3 separate regions of the Homo sapiens genome follow, and all the other regions are linked to region 2. The links are contacts of gene promoters, found by promoter capture Hi-C in human tissues and cell types (Jung and others, 2019). All regions are on one chromosome and are shown on one strand. The core of a region is centred on a gene start or on the middle of the fragment in contact, and the rest is flanking DNA. Distances in the headings are between cores, read along the strand shown. Region 1 has its middle 39 kb from the start of NSMAF. Region 2 holds the start of CYP7A1 (cytochrome P450 family 7 subfamily A member 1). Region 3 has its middle 63 kb from the start of LINC03133.

What was found. Contacts are between HindIII fragments. The study calls those that stand out against the background at their distance.
Region 1: a contact is called between a fragment that was not itself captured here and the fragment with the promoter of CYP7A1 in region 2, in 1 of the 25 tissues and cell types used here (hippocampus).
Region 3: a contact is called between a fragment that was not itself captured here and the fragment with the promoter of CYP7A1 in region 2, in 2 of the 25 tissues and cell types used here (aorta and ovary).

Annotation. Positions count from the first base shown.
Region 1 is chr8:58,696,492-58,701,181 of GRCh38, forward strand. No RefSeq gene overlaps it. Among named protein-coding and RNA genes, the nearest start is that of NSMAF, 39 kb to the left of the region's middle. RefSeq lists an enhancer at 3,725-4,296. The HindIII fragment of the contact is 5,195 bases long and covers 1-4,507 here.
Region 2 is chr8:58,498,332-58,502,678 of GRCh38, forward strand. CYP7A1 (cytochrome P450 family 7 subfamily A member 1) reads right to left here and starts at 1,832. Exons shown (of 6, transcript NM_000780.4): 1 at 1,688-1,832; 2 at 1-138. The coding sequence starts at 1,767. RefSeq lists a silencer at 124-1,710, a promoter at 1,808-3,710 and an enhancer at 2,042-2,263. The HindIII fragment of the contact is 11,138 bases long and covers 1-4,347 here.
Region 3 is chr8:58,332,802-58,337,023 of GRCh38, forward strand. No RefSeq gene overlaps it. Among named protein-coding and RNA genes, the nearest start is that of LINC03133, 63 kb to the left of the region's middle. The HindIII fragment of the contact is 5,242 bases long and covers 268-4,222 here.

The sequences.
Region 1 (4,690 bases), core at 660-3,159, 200 kb after region 2:
GGAACTCTAAAAATAACTTGTTTGTATAATGTTATTCTATACAAGGTATGTAGCCCAGGAAATGACCAACCTGATGTGTGTTATGATCCATCTGAGCCTCCCATGACCACAGTTTTAAAATAAGATTAAGGACTGAGGACTGGTGGGGGCTCATAAACGATACGAGTAAAGTGTTAACCAAAACAGAAGAAAAAGGGGTGCCCAAACAAGTCAAGTTAAAATTTGATGCCTGTGCTGTCATTAATACTAATAAGTTAGGAATAAGGTGTGGTTCTCTTAATTAGAAAAGAGGCTATATGGCAGAAAATAAGTACATCTGTCATAAATTAGGAGTGTGTGGAAATAAATGTAAGTACTGGTCTTGTGTCATTAGGCCACTTGGATTAAAAAAAAATGAAAAGGATCCAGCCCACCTTCAGAAAGGAAAAAAATGGCCCTTCCTTTACTAAGGAACAATGTAACCCCTTACAGCTAGTAATAACCAATACCCTTGACCCTCGCTGGAAAAAAGAGGAGCTTGTGACCTTAGGAATCAACGGGGCTGGACTGGATCCTTGAGTAAATATCTTAGTTTGAGGAGAAGTTTACAAACGCTCTCCTGAGCCAGTATTTCAAACTTCCTATGATGAACTAAATGTGCCAGTACCAGAAATTCTAGGAAAAACAAGAAATTCGTTTTTGCAATTAGCTGAGCATGTAGCCCAGTCTCTCAATGTCACTTCATGTTATGTACGTGGAGGAACTGTAATAGGAGATCAATGGCCATGAGAAGCCTGAGAGTTAGTACCTACAGACCCAGTTCCTGATGAATTCCCAGCTCAAAAGAATCACCCTGATAATTTCTGGGTCCTAAAAGCCTCAATTATTGGACAATACTGCATAGCTAGAGAAGGAAAATAATTCGTGCACCCCGTAGGAAGACTTAGTTGTCTGGGACAGAAAGTGTATAATGGTACCACAAAAGCAGTCACTTGGTGGAGTTCAAATCACACACAGAGAAATCCATTCAGTCGATTCCCAAAGTTGCAAACTGTGTGGACCCACCCGGAGTCCCACCGGGACTGGACAGCCCCCACTGGATTGTACTGGATATATAGGCATAGAGCTTACGCCAAATTACCTGACCGATAGGCAGGCAGTTTTGTTATTGGCACTATTAAACCATCTTTCTTCCTACTGCCCATAAAAACAGGCGAACTCCTGGGCTCCCCTGTCTATGCTTCCTGCGAAAAGAGAAGCATAGCTATAGGAAATTTTAAAAAATGATAAATGGCCCCCTGAGAAAATCACACAATATTATGGACCTGCTACTTAGGCACAAGATGGCTCATGGGGATACCAGACCCCCATTTACATGATCAACCAAATCATACGGTTACAAGCTGTCTTAAAAATAATCACTAATAAAACCTGCAGAGCCTTGACTATTCTGGCCTGGCAAGAAATTCAGATGAGAAATGCTATCTATCAAAATAGATTAGCTCTAGACTACTTGCTAGCAGCTGAAGGAGAGGCCTGTAGGAAATTTAACCTTACTAATTGCTGCCTACATATAGATAATCAAGGGCAAGTAGTTGAGGACATAGTTAGAGATATGACAAAAGTGGCACATGTGCCTGTGCAAGTGTGGCATGGATTTGATCCTGGAGCCATGTTTAGAAAATGGTTCCCAGCACTAGGAGAATTTAAAACTCTTATAATAACAGTTATAATAGTAATAGGAACCGCTTACTTCTCCCTTGTTTGCTACCTGTACTTCTTCAAATGATAAAAAGCTTCATCACTACCTTAGTTCACCAAAATGCTTCAGCACAAGTGTACTATATGAATCACTATCAATCTGTCTTGCAAGAAGACATGGGTAGTAAGAATGAAAGTGAGAACTCGCACTATTGAGTGAGAGTCTCAAAGGGGGGGAATAAGGGAGGAGACCACCCCTCATATTGTCTTATGCCTAATTTCTGCCTCCAAAAAAAGAAAAAGTAAAAAACTAAAAGGCAGAAATGAAATCCACAAGCAGACAGCCGGGCACCATACCCTGGGCCTGGTAGTTAAAGATCGACCCTGACCTAATTGGTTATGTTATCTATAGATTACAGACATTGTATAGAAAAGCACTGTGAAAATCCCTATCCTGTTTTGTTTTGATCTAATTACCGGTGCATGCAGCCCCCAGTCACATACCCCCTGCTTGCTCAGTCGATCACGACCCTCTGACGTGCACCCCCTTAGAGTTGTTAGCCCTTTAAAGGGACAGGAATTGCTCACTTGGGGAGCTCGGCTCTTGAGACAGGAGTCTTGCCGATGCTCCTGGCCGAATAAACCCCTTCCTTCTTTAACTCGGTGTCTGAGGAGTTTTGTCTGTGGCTCATCCTGCTACATTCATAAATGGATTTTTCATGAAAAATGGCCAAATAAGATATATGTGCCTGTTGGTCAAGTTTATCACTATAAAAATGAAACCACTGAAAGAGCACAGTGTCTGGAAAATGATTTTTTGTTTGCACATCATTCGACAGATGCTAGAAGATGACTTTGACTGAACGATATCATTTTCAGAAAGCTTTATCATTAGTGACTAAAAAGTCACACCAACTGTATTGGTGGTATATTTCATCCCTTACCCCATTTATCATAACAACCTGTTTTTACAGTAAATGATATATGTGGACAAATACATATAATATGAATATTTCAAACTTCAGGGTTTTGCAGGGATAAATTTTTAGTAAATGGAAGTAGATATACCTTGACATTTACAGAAAAGGGCACAAGAAGTCTATATACGGAGGAAGGAGTTTTGAATAGTGATATTCACTTTAAACTCATTCATTGTATAGTTATTGAGTACACGCTGAGTCCTTGTCAGACTTAGGTACAGAGTTGAGAAAGATAGACTTGCTTTTTATTGACAGACAGCCTACATTCTAGAGAAGAGGCAGAGAGAAACACAAGTTACATAGTGAATTATTTAATTACACTTGTTGTCACTGCTATGAAGACGAAGTCCAGAGCACCACGAGATTATGTAATGTGACTGAGATAGTGCATGTGTGAAACACTCAGATGCTCCTTCACTGGGGAAATGAAATGATTTGATTGGTGAAGAAATTATTCTCTAAGGAAATGCAGTTGCAATTGAGACCTGAAAGATTAACTAATTGTCAAGCATGATGAAGGAAGAGCCTGAGGCAGGAAGGAGCCTGGTAAAATGAAGTGGAGAGTCTGGGGCCTCCGGAGTGCAGACTCACTGGAAGGCGCTTAGAGGTATGGCGGAGGGCCCTGGCCTCATGTTTGCCAGAGCCTCAAATTTAGATCTTTTAACATTTATTTTTATTTATTTATTTTTTTAGAGACACTGTCTTGCTCTGTCACCCAGGCTGGAGCACAGTGGCATGATCACGGCTAGCTGCAACCTCGACCTCCTGGGTTTGAGTGATCTTCCTGCCTCGGCTTCCTGTGTAGCTGGGACTACAGGCACGCACCATCATGCCTGACTAATTTTTAAGTTTTGGTAGAAACAGGGTCTTGCTATGTTGCCCAGGCTGGTCTACAACTCCTGGCCTGAAGTGATCCTCCTACTTTGGTCTCCTAAAGTGCTGGGATTACAGATGTCAGCCACTGCACCCAGACTTACTTAAACTCTTGACTGATCTCCAGTTGAGGTTGTATATACAGTCATTGCCTGTTTAATTTTTAAAGCATTAATTTATTAAATAAATATTTTAAAATATATAACATTTTTTGATTCTCTGTTTTGGCATTTTTATGTTTATCTCTTTGTTGTTGTTTCCTATCAGAGGTATCAGAAATTCTATGTGGCTCAGGCCCCTCTCACCTCAGAGGAGCTCCGCCAGGGCTAGATGGGCATGAGGTCACACAGGGTCTTGTTGGCTGTGTGAAGGATTCTGATTCATTTCTCCAGGGCGGTAGGAGCCTTAGCGGGGCTTCAGTCCATACCTGAGGAATACTGTGCCTGTTTGTTCCCTTTTATCACCTCCTTTATTCCTGTTGATCACTCCTTTGATCTCACCACTCCCTGGTGAGGAAGGTATTTCTAGCTTTATTTTACAAATGGGAAAACCAAGGCTAAGAGGCTAAAGAACATCCCCAGGTCACACTGCTAGGCAAAGGTCACAACACTCAGGCCCTCTCCGCTGCCTCATAGCCACTTCATTGCGTGGTGGATTTGAAGACATCTGAACAACCCTGGGAAGGAAGGAAAGAAGGGAGTGCTTTGGACTGAATTGTGTCAGCCCCCAGCCCCCCCAAAATTCATATGTTCAAACCCCAACCCCCTATGCCTCAGAATGAGACTGTATTTAGAGATAGGGTCTTTACAGAGATGATTAAGATAAAATGAAGTCACATGGGTCAGCCCTAATCCAACGTAACTGGTGTCCTTGCAAGAAGAGGACATTGAGACTTAGACAAATATGAACAAGAGGGAAGACCATGTGGAGACACAAGGAGAAGATGGTCACCTACAGGCAAGGTGAGAGGTCTCAGAAGGAACCAACCCTGCCAACACCATGATTTTGGACTTCCAGCCTCCAGAGCTATGAGAACATAAATTTCTGTTGTTTAAGTCACTCAGTATGTGATACTTTTTACGGCAACCACAGCAGACTAAGAGGGAGTTTGTTACCATTTTTTTGCTTCTTCACTATGACTTTGTGGTTGATACTGT
Region 2 (4,347 bases), core at 582-3,081:
CCCATTAGTTTGCAGGTAAAAACATGACCATGTTTCCTTTGATTTGCTCTGAGGAACTCAAGAGGATTGGCACCAAATTGCAGAGCACAGCCCAGGTATGGAATTAATCCATTCTCTAGAGGTGGTTCACCCGTTTGCCTGTCAGACACAAGTGTATGATAGACATGGATGATTACAGTTTTGGGTTTTTACTTACATCAGGTTTTAAAATTTTTCCCACTGACTTCAAACTTTGAAACCCTATAGTTTATAGATATTTCTTTTGTTGGATGGGCCCTGCTCTTTTACTACAGTAATAGGTTATATTAACCTAGTAACATGATATGTTGGTGGAAAGGATTACTAAATCCATCCATTCATGCATCCGTCCATATACACATTCAACAAGCACCCGTCTACTATGTGCTCATCACTTTTCCCAGTGATACAGGCAAAAGGATTTACAAGACCAACAAGATTCTTGTTGTCAGTGCGGAAACAAAACTACATTCTAGTGTTTATCACTTTGCTAAGCATCATTTTTCTAAATATCTCAAAATGTTTCTTTTGATTATTTTCTTTAAAGACACAGATCACTGAATAAGGGAGGATTTCAGAACTGAGGTTTTGAAAATATTCCTAGTTTAAAGATATCTATATTATATTCTATAAGGATGGTTTCAGAGAAGAAGAATCTCATGTGAGAAATCAGCTTATTATAAAATGAAATTGAGTAAGATAAACACTGACGGAATCATCTATTGTAATTCAGTGCTCCTTTAAAATGTTTTTATTAGAACATGTAAACTTATTTTCCAACATAAACTTCTGTACCTCTTGATAGAATAATACAGTATAAAGTAATTACCTTTCTTTTCTTAGTTTGAAGATAAGTAGTTTAATTAAAAGTAAAAACTATCAGGCCTGAAAGAAACTGCAAAAGGCAGAAAACACATAGCAATCTACAAAGCTGAAAGATGGTTAGGGTTATTTTCTCTTTTTGAGATTGACATAGCAGAGAATATCTATATGCCTCCCCACAATTACTCCTTGAGCCAATTAGAAGTTAAATAAACTATGGTTCTGGATCTGACTGTATTTGTTTTTCTTGCATTCTTGAACCAGTTGTAAATAAATGAAATCGATGTCACATACACTCAGCAAACTTTCCCAATTCACCACAGTTGATTAACATTTATTTAAAAACAGTAATAGAATGATCAGCTCAGGCTCTATGCTCTTGTTCAGGCTTAGGCTGAGTCTATGCGATGCACAAGAATGAGCTTAAAAGAGAACATTTATTTAACAAGAGTATCTATTGAAGCCATGTGAGAGAAAGCAATCCTTTCCATTGTAGATTCCCACTTGCTACTTGTATCCTTACTAATCTGGGCTTCCTCTTTAGATACACATATAAATGTACATAGAGACCTTATACAATTTCTGTCAGTTATGTTTAACACCAATATACATTTATATATTACCATCGGTATATGCCAATACTAAAAAGGGAAGCTGTCATATGTCTTGTGAGATATAGTAAAAAAGATATTACTTTAAAAATTCAAATCAAATTTTTCATTTAAAAAATAAGGAAGATAATGCTAATATGTGTAAGTATAGAAAACCAAATTTACTGTATAAAAATGAAGGTAAAAAAATTAAATGGATGAATCAAAGAGCAATTTAAAGATAAAACATTACTTACCTTCTCCTAATTCCAAGAATAAGCCATAGACAACAGCATGCTGCTATAGCAATCCCCCAAATCAAAGATGTGGTCATCATTTTGCAAATCTAGGCCAAAATCTCTGAGGAAGAAAATCTCTGATTAGAAAGGGAAGGATGCCACTGAAAAGAGACTCAAGCTAGGCTTTTTATATACATAGTATCCAGATCCATTAACTTGAGCTTGGTTGACAAAGCAAACAATTAGCCATTTGTTCATTCTATTAGAAAAAAAAAAGTGGTAGTAACTGGCCTTGAACTAAGTCCACAGGTATCAGAAGTGGTTCCAAAGCAATCAGAGACCTGCAATACTTGATAAGTTGAAGGTCTCTCAAATATATGTTGACTTAACATTCGGACCTGGGGACAACAGCTAATATTAAGAGTTTGGTATGTGTAAAAAGAACAAATAAACCTGTTTAAGATGGGCATAGCTAATAAATACATAAACTATAATCATTTAAAGAAAGATAAGAATGAGTTATTCATCAAGCTTATAATTTGGTCTTGTTAACTTTTAAAGAAGAATTAATTTAGGTGCTTTGCCAGAGAGACGGTGATCAAGTTCAGAGGAAAGAGAACTGGGAAAAACATTTCTGCTGCTTCATGTTTCAGTGCTTTTATAAAATCATAGATATTTTACTACATATAGTAACATGTTACTCACCTAACATCCTCAAGAGAGTATTCTACATAAGTGCATCCTCTAGATAAATATAACTTATTGGAAGCATCAAAATTTTATCTATCATTCTTGTGACTAAAATGTTTATCAATGTTTCTAATTATTAAAGTAATAAATTTCATTTCAAGTAAGTTAAGACTAACTAAAACATATCTTGGTGGAAAGTGAACATCTATTAATAATTTACCTACCATGCTACTCCTTTACTCAGAAGTAACCACTAGTAACAATTTGGCATCTGTTCTTCCAAACTTTATTTCTGTGTACACAAAAATATTAGTTGAGTATTTATTACGTGCCAAGAACTCTTCAAAAGTATTCCAGTTGCAGGCATTAATAAGATAGGCAGATTTCCTAATCTAATGGAGATTCTATTCCAATGGAGAAAGGAGTAATAAAATACATGTTATGAAAAAAATAAAACATGGTATAGAAAGCTATGGGGGAATGAGGACAACTTTAGATATGATGATCAGAGATGGGCTCTCTGAAATTGTGACATTTGAGATCTGAATGACAAGAAGAGACTACTCATGTGAATATCAGAAGGAAGGATATTCCAGGAAGAGGAAGCAGCAAATGCAATGTCTTGAGTCAAGGATCAACTTGGTGAGTCTAAGAACCAAAAAGAAGGATGTATCCTACTGAAGCAGAGTGAATGAGAGTTCACAGAATTAAGACAAAAGAAGGTAGGCAACAGTACTGTGTGTGTATATATATGTATATAAACACACACACACATACACCCACAGTATTCTCTATATTTATACATGTGTGTATCTATATGTGTGTATAAATAATTATATTGAATATGTGCTTAATCTTCCATTGGATAAATGTACTATAATTTATTTAACTGATTTCCTATTGATGGATATGTGGGTTGTTTCCAGTTTTGGCTATAGATGCCATAGATTTATTTCATGTGTTTTTTGTTTTTGCCTGTTTAAACAGAGATCACACATTTTTTGTGTGTAATTTATCACCATAAATATTAATATCAATCATTGTATGGCAGTACATAGATTTTTCTTAGAATCTAGGTTTTTGGGGGGCTTTGTGCATTTATTTAGACAGGTGGATTTTTAAAAAATTAATATATCTTTTTAAAAATATGGCTTATAGAAAAGCTGATCTTATACATGGACAATCACAGCAAGATATCCCAGTCAGATAAAATGCCAATCTAATATCCAAATAATACAGCCCTTTAGAGTTACTTCTCGGGCAAATGAAGAACAAGCAAATATACAAAAATGGAAAGGAAGTCAGGCATGGTAGTGTGACATGGTTTGGCTGTGTCCCCATCCAAATCTCATCTTGAATTCTCACGTGTTGTGGGAGGAACCTGGTAGGAGGTGACTGAATTATGGGTGCAGTTCTTTCCTGTGCTATTGTCATGATAATGAATAAATTTCATGAGATCTGATGGTTTTAAAAAGAGGAGTTTCCCTGCACAAGCTCTTTTCTTGTCTGCTGCCATGTGAGATGTGCCTTTCTCCTTCCATCATGATTGTGAGGCCTCCCAAGTGATGTAGAATTGTAAGTCCAATAAACCTCTTTCTTTTGTAAATTGTCCAGTTTCAGGTATGTCTTTATCAGCAGCATGAAAATCGACTAATACAGTAAACTGGTACCAGTAGAGTGGGGCACGGCTGAAAAGATAACCAAAAATGTGGAAGCGACTTTGGAACTGGGTAACAGGTAGGGATTGGAACAGTTTGGAGGGCTCAGAAGAAGACAGGAGAATGTGAGCAAGTTTGGAACTCCCTAGAGGCCTGTTGAATGACTTTGACCAAAATGCTGATAATGATATGGACAACGAAATCTAGGCGGGGGTGGTTTCAGATGGAGATGAGGAACTTTTTGGGAACTAGAGCAAGGGTGACTCTTGTTATGTTTTAGTAAAGAGACTGGCAGCGTTTTGTCCCTGCCCTAGAGATTTGTGGAACTTG
Region 3 (4,222 bases), core at 1,639-4,138, 160 kb before region 2:
GAATGCCTCTTCTCCTCTAAATGATTGCAACACATCTCCAGCAAGGGCACAGAACTGAGCTGAAGCTGAGATGGATGAACTGACATAAGTAGGCTTTAGAAAGTGGGTAGTAACAAATTTTGCTGAGCTAAAGGATTATGTTCTAGCCTAATGCTAAGAAGCTAAGAACCATGATAAAATATTATGGGAGCTGTTAACTGGAATAACCAGTTTAGAGAGGAACATAAATGACCTGATGGAGCTGAAAAACACAGCACAAGAACTTTGTGATGCAAACACAAGTACCAATAGCTGAATTGACCAAGTGGAAGAGAGAGTATCAGAGCCTGAAGACTATCTTGCTGAAATAGGCCATGAAGACAAGATTGGAGAAAAAAGAATGAAAGGGAACAAACAAAACCTCCGAGAGCTATGGGACTATGTCAAAAGACTGAACCTATGACTGATTGGAGTACCTGAAAGAGATGGGGAGAATGAAACCAAGTTGGAAAACACACTTCAGGATATCATCCAGGAGAACTTCCCCAGTCTAGCAAGACAGGCCAATATTCAAATTCAGGAAATCGAGATAACTGCAGTAGCATACTCCACAAAAGTTCTACCCCAAGACACATAATCATCAGATTCTCCAAGGTTGAAATGAAAGAAAAAATGTTAAGGGCAGCAAGAGAGAAAGGACAGGTCACCTACAAAGGGAAGCCCATCAGACTAACAGTGGACCTCTCAGTGGAAACCCTACAAGCCAGAAGAGATTGGGGGCCAATATTCGACATTCTTAAGAAAAAGAAATTCCAACCCAGAATTTCATATCTGGCCAAACTAAGCTTCATAAGTGGAGGAGAAATAAAATCCTTTTCAGACAAGCAAATGCTGAGGGATTTTGTCACCATCAGCCCTGTCTTGCAAGAACTCCTGAAGGAAGCACTAAAACCTGGATAGGAAAAACCTATTCTATCTATGAAACTACAAAAACACACTGAAGTACAGAGACCAGTGACACTATGAAGCAAATACGTTAACAAGTCTGCAAAATTAAACAGCCAGCATCATGATGACAGGATCAAATTCATACATAACAATATTAAACTTAAAGGTAAATGGGCTAAATGTCCTAATTAAAAGACACAGAATGGCAAGCTGGATACAAAGACAAGACCCATCAGTGTGCTGTATTCAAGAGACACATCTCAACAAAGGTCAAAAAAGACAAAGGGCATTACATAATATTAAAGTGTTCAATTCCCCAAGAAGAGCTAACTATACTAAATACATATGCACCCAATACAGGAACACCCAGATTCATAAAATAAGTTCTTAGAGAACTACAAAGAGACTTAGACCCCCACACAATAATAGTGAGAGACTTTAATACCCTCACAGTCAGCATTAGACAGATCATTGAGACAGAAAATTAACAAAGATATTCAGGACTTGAGCTCAGACCAAGTGGACCTGATAGATATCTACAGAACTCTCCACCTAAAACAACAGATTTTTTTGGTGCCACATGGCACTTACCCTAAAATTGATCACATAATTGGAAGTAAAACACTCTTCAGCAGATGCAAAAATTAAAAAACTGGAATCATAAGATTCCAGTTGTGGTCTCTCAGACCACAACACAATCAAATTAGAACTCAAGATTTAAAAGCCCACTCAAAACCACACAGCTACATGAAATTGAACAAACTGCTCCTGAATGACCCCTGGGTAAATAATGAAATTAAGGCAGAAATCGAGAAGTTCTTTGAAACCAATGAGAACAAAGAGACAATGTATCAGAATCTCTAGGATGCAGCTGAAACTGTGTTAAGAGGGAAATTTATTACACTAAATGCCCACATCAAAAAGCTAGAAAAATCTCAAATAGACACCCTAATATCACAACTAAAAGAACTAGAGAACCAAGAGCAAACAAACCCCAGAGCTAGGAGAAGACAGGAAATAATTTCAGAGAGGAAATGAAGGACATAGAAACAAAAAAAACTTCAAAAAATCAACAAATCCACAAACTTTTTTTAAATCAATAGGGAAAATAGACTGCTAGCAAGACTAATAAAGAAGGCAAGAGAGAAGATTCAAATAAACACAATCAGAAATGGTAAGGGGGATAACACCACTGACCCAAAGAAATACAAACAACCCTCAGAGAATACTATATACAACTCTATGCAAATAAACTGGAAAATCTAGAAGAAATAGATAAATTCCTGGACACATACACCCTTCCAAGACTGAACCAGAAAGAAGCTGAATCCCTGAATAGAACAATAACAAATTCTGAAATTGAGGCAGTAATTTCAGGTCCAGAGGGATTTATAGCTGAATTCTAACAGAGATACAAAGCAAAGTTGGTACCATTTCTTCTGAAACTATTCCAAACAATTAAAAAGGAGAGACTCCTCCCTAACTCATTATATGAGGTCAGCGTCATCCTGATACCAAAACCTGCCAGAGTTACAACCAAAAAAGAAAACTTTGGGCCAATATTCATAATGAACATAGATGGAAAAATCCTCAATAAAATACTAGCAAATGGAGTCCAGCAGCACATCAAAAAGCTTATTCACCATGATCAGGTCGGCTTCATCCCTGGGATGCAAGGCAGGTTCAACAGATGCAAATCAATAAACATAATTCATCAAATAAACAGAACTAGAGACAAAAACCACATAATTATCTCAATAGATGCAGAAAAGACCTTTGATAAAATGCAACATCCCTGCATGTTAAAAACTCTTAATAAACTAGGCATTGAAGGAACATACCTCAAAATAATAAGAGCCATTTATGACAGATCCACAGCCAATATCATACTGAATGGGCAAAAGCTGCAGGCATTCCCTTGAAAACTGGCACAAGACCAGGATGCTCTCTCTCACCACTCTTATTCAACATAGTGTTGAAAGTTCTGGCCAGGGCAATTAGGCAAGAGAAAGAAATATAGGATATTCGAATGGGAAGAGAGGAAGTCAAATTGTCTTTGTTTGCAGATGACATGATTCTGTATCTAGAAAACCACATTGTCTCAGCCCAAAAGCTTCTAAAGCTGATAAGCAAATTTAGCAAAGTCTCAGGATACAAAGTCAATGTGCGAAAGTCACAAGCATTCCTATACACCAACAACAGGCAAGCAGAAATCCAAATCATGAATGAACTCCCATTCACAATTGCCACAAAGAGAATAAAATACCTAGGAATAGAGCTAACAAGGAAAGTGAAGGACCTCTTCAAAGAGAACTACAAACCACTGCTCAAGGAAATCAGAGAGAACACAAACAAATGGAAAAACATTCCATCTGCTCATGGATAGAAAGAATCAGTATAGTGAAAATAACTATACTGCCCAAAGCAATTTATAGATTCAATGCTCTTCCCATTAAACTACCACTGACATTCTTCACAGAATTAGAAAAAAATATTTTAAAATTCATATGGAACCAAAAAAGAGCTCACATAGCCAAGACAATCCTAAGCAAAAAGAACAAAACTAGGCGATGGGTTGATATGTGCAGCAAACCACCATGGCACACGTTTACCTATGTGACAAACCTGCACATCCTGCACATATACCCCAAAACTTTAAATAATTAATTAATTTAAAAAGAGAAAGTCTTAAAAGAAAAAAAAGAAAAGAAACCCATCCCCAACTTACAGATGAGCCTCGGAGAGATTAATTGACTTGACTGTGATCACCTGACTCATCAGAGCCTGAGCAGTTTTGACAGCACAATTACTGACATCAGAGCCTTTGCAGTTTATAGATTTGTCTTCATTCCTAACTTTCTTCATATTCCCCTTCCTTCTTTGGAAAGGGTTCCTATGAATATGACCTGCCAAATAAACAGATTGTAAATATAATCAGTTAGGTTTCAGCAAAAAGGGAAAAGACTGTCACTTGGACATTGAAATCAGGCTAAAAATTCAACTATGGAATTACCTTATGTCATTCTAATAAGACTCCTTCTGCTAAACTTAGCCACAAGTGGCCACCCAAAACCCCTTGGGAAGAAATGAGCCAGAGACACAGAATTATAATTTGCTGTATTACAGAATATCAGTTTTGCCAACTGGCTCTCTAATGTGAGCTCTGTTTGTCAAAAAAAAATGAATTCAGTATGACAGAAGTGTTTTCTGTCGCTTGCACGCTGGCCAAGAGTCGATCAACTCTGCTTGCCAAACAGAATGCCTCTGACAAGGTCATCAGCAAAGTCACTCTTAA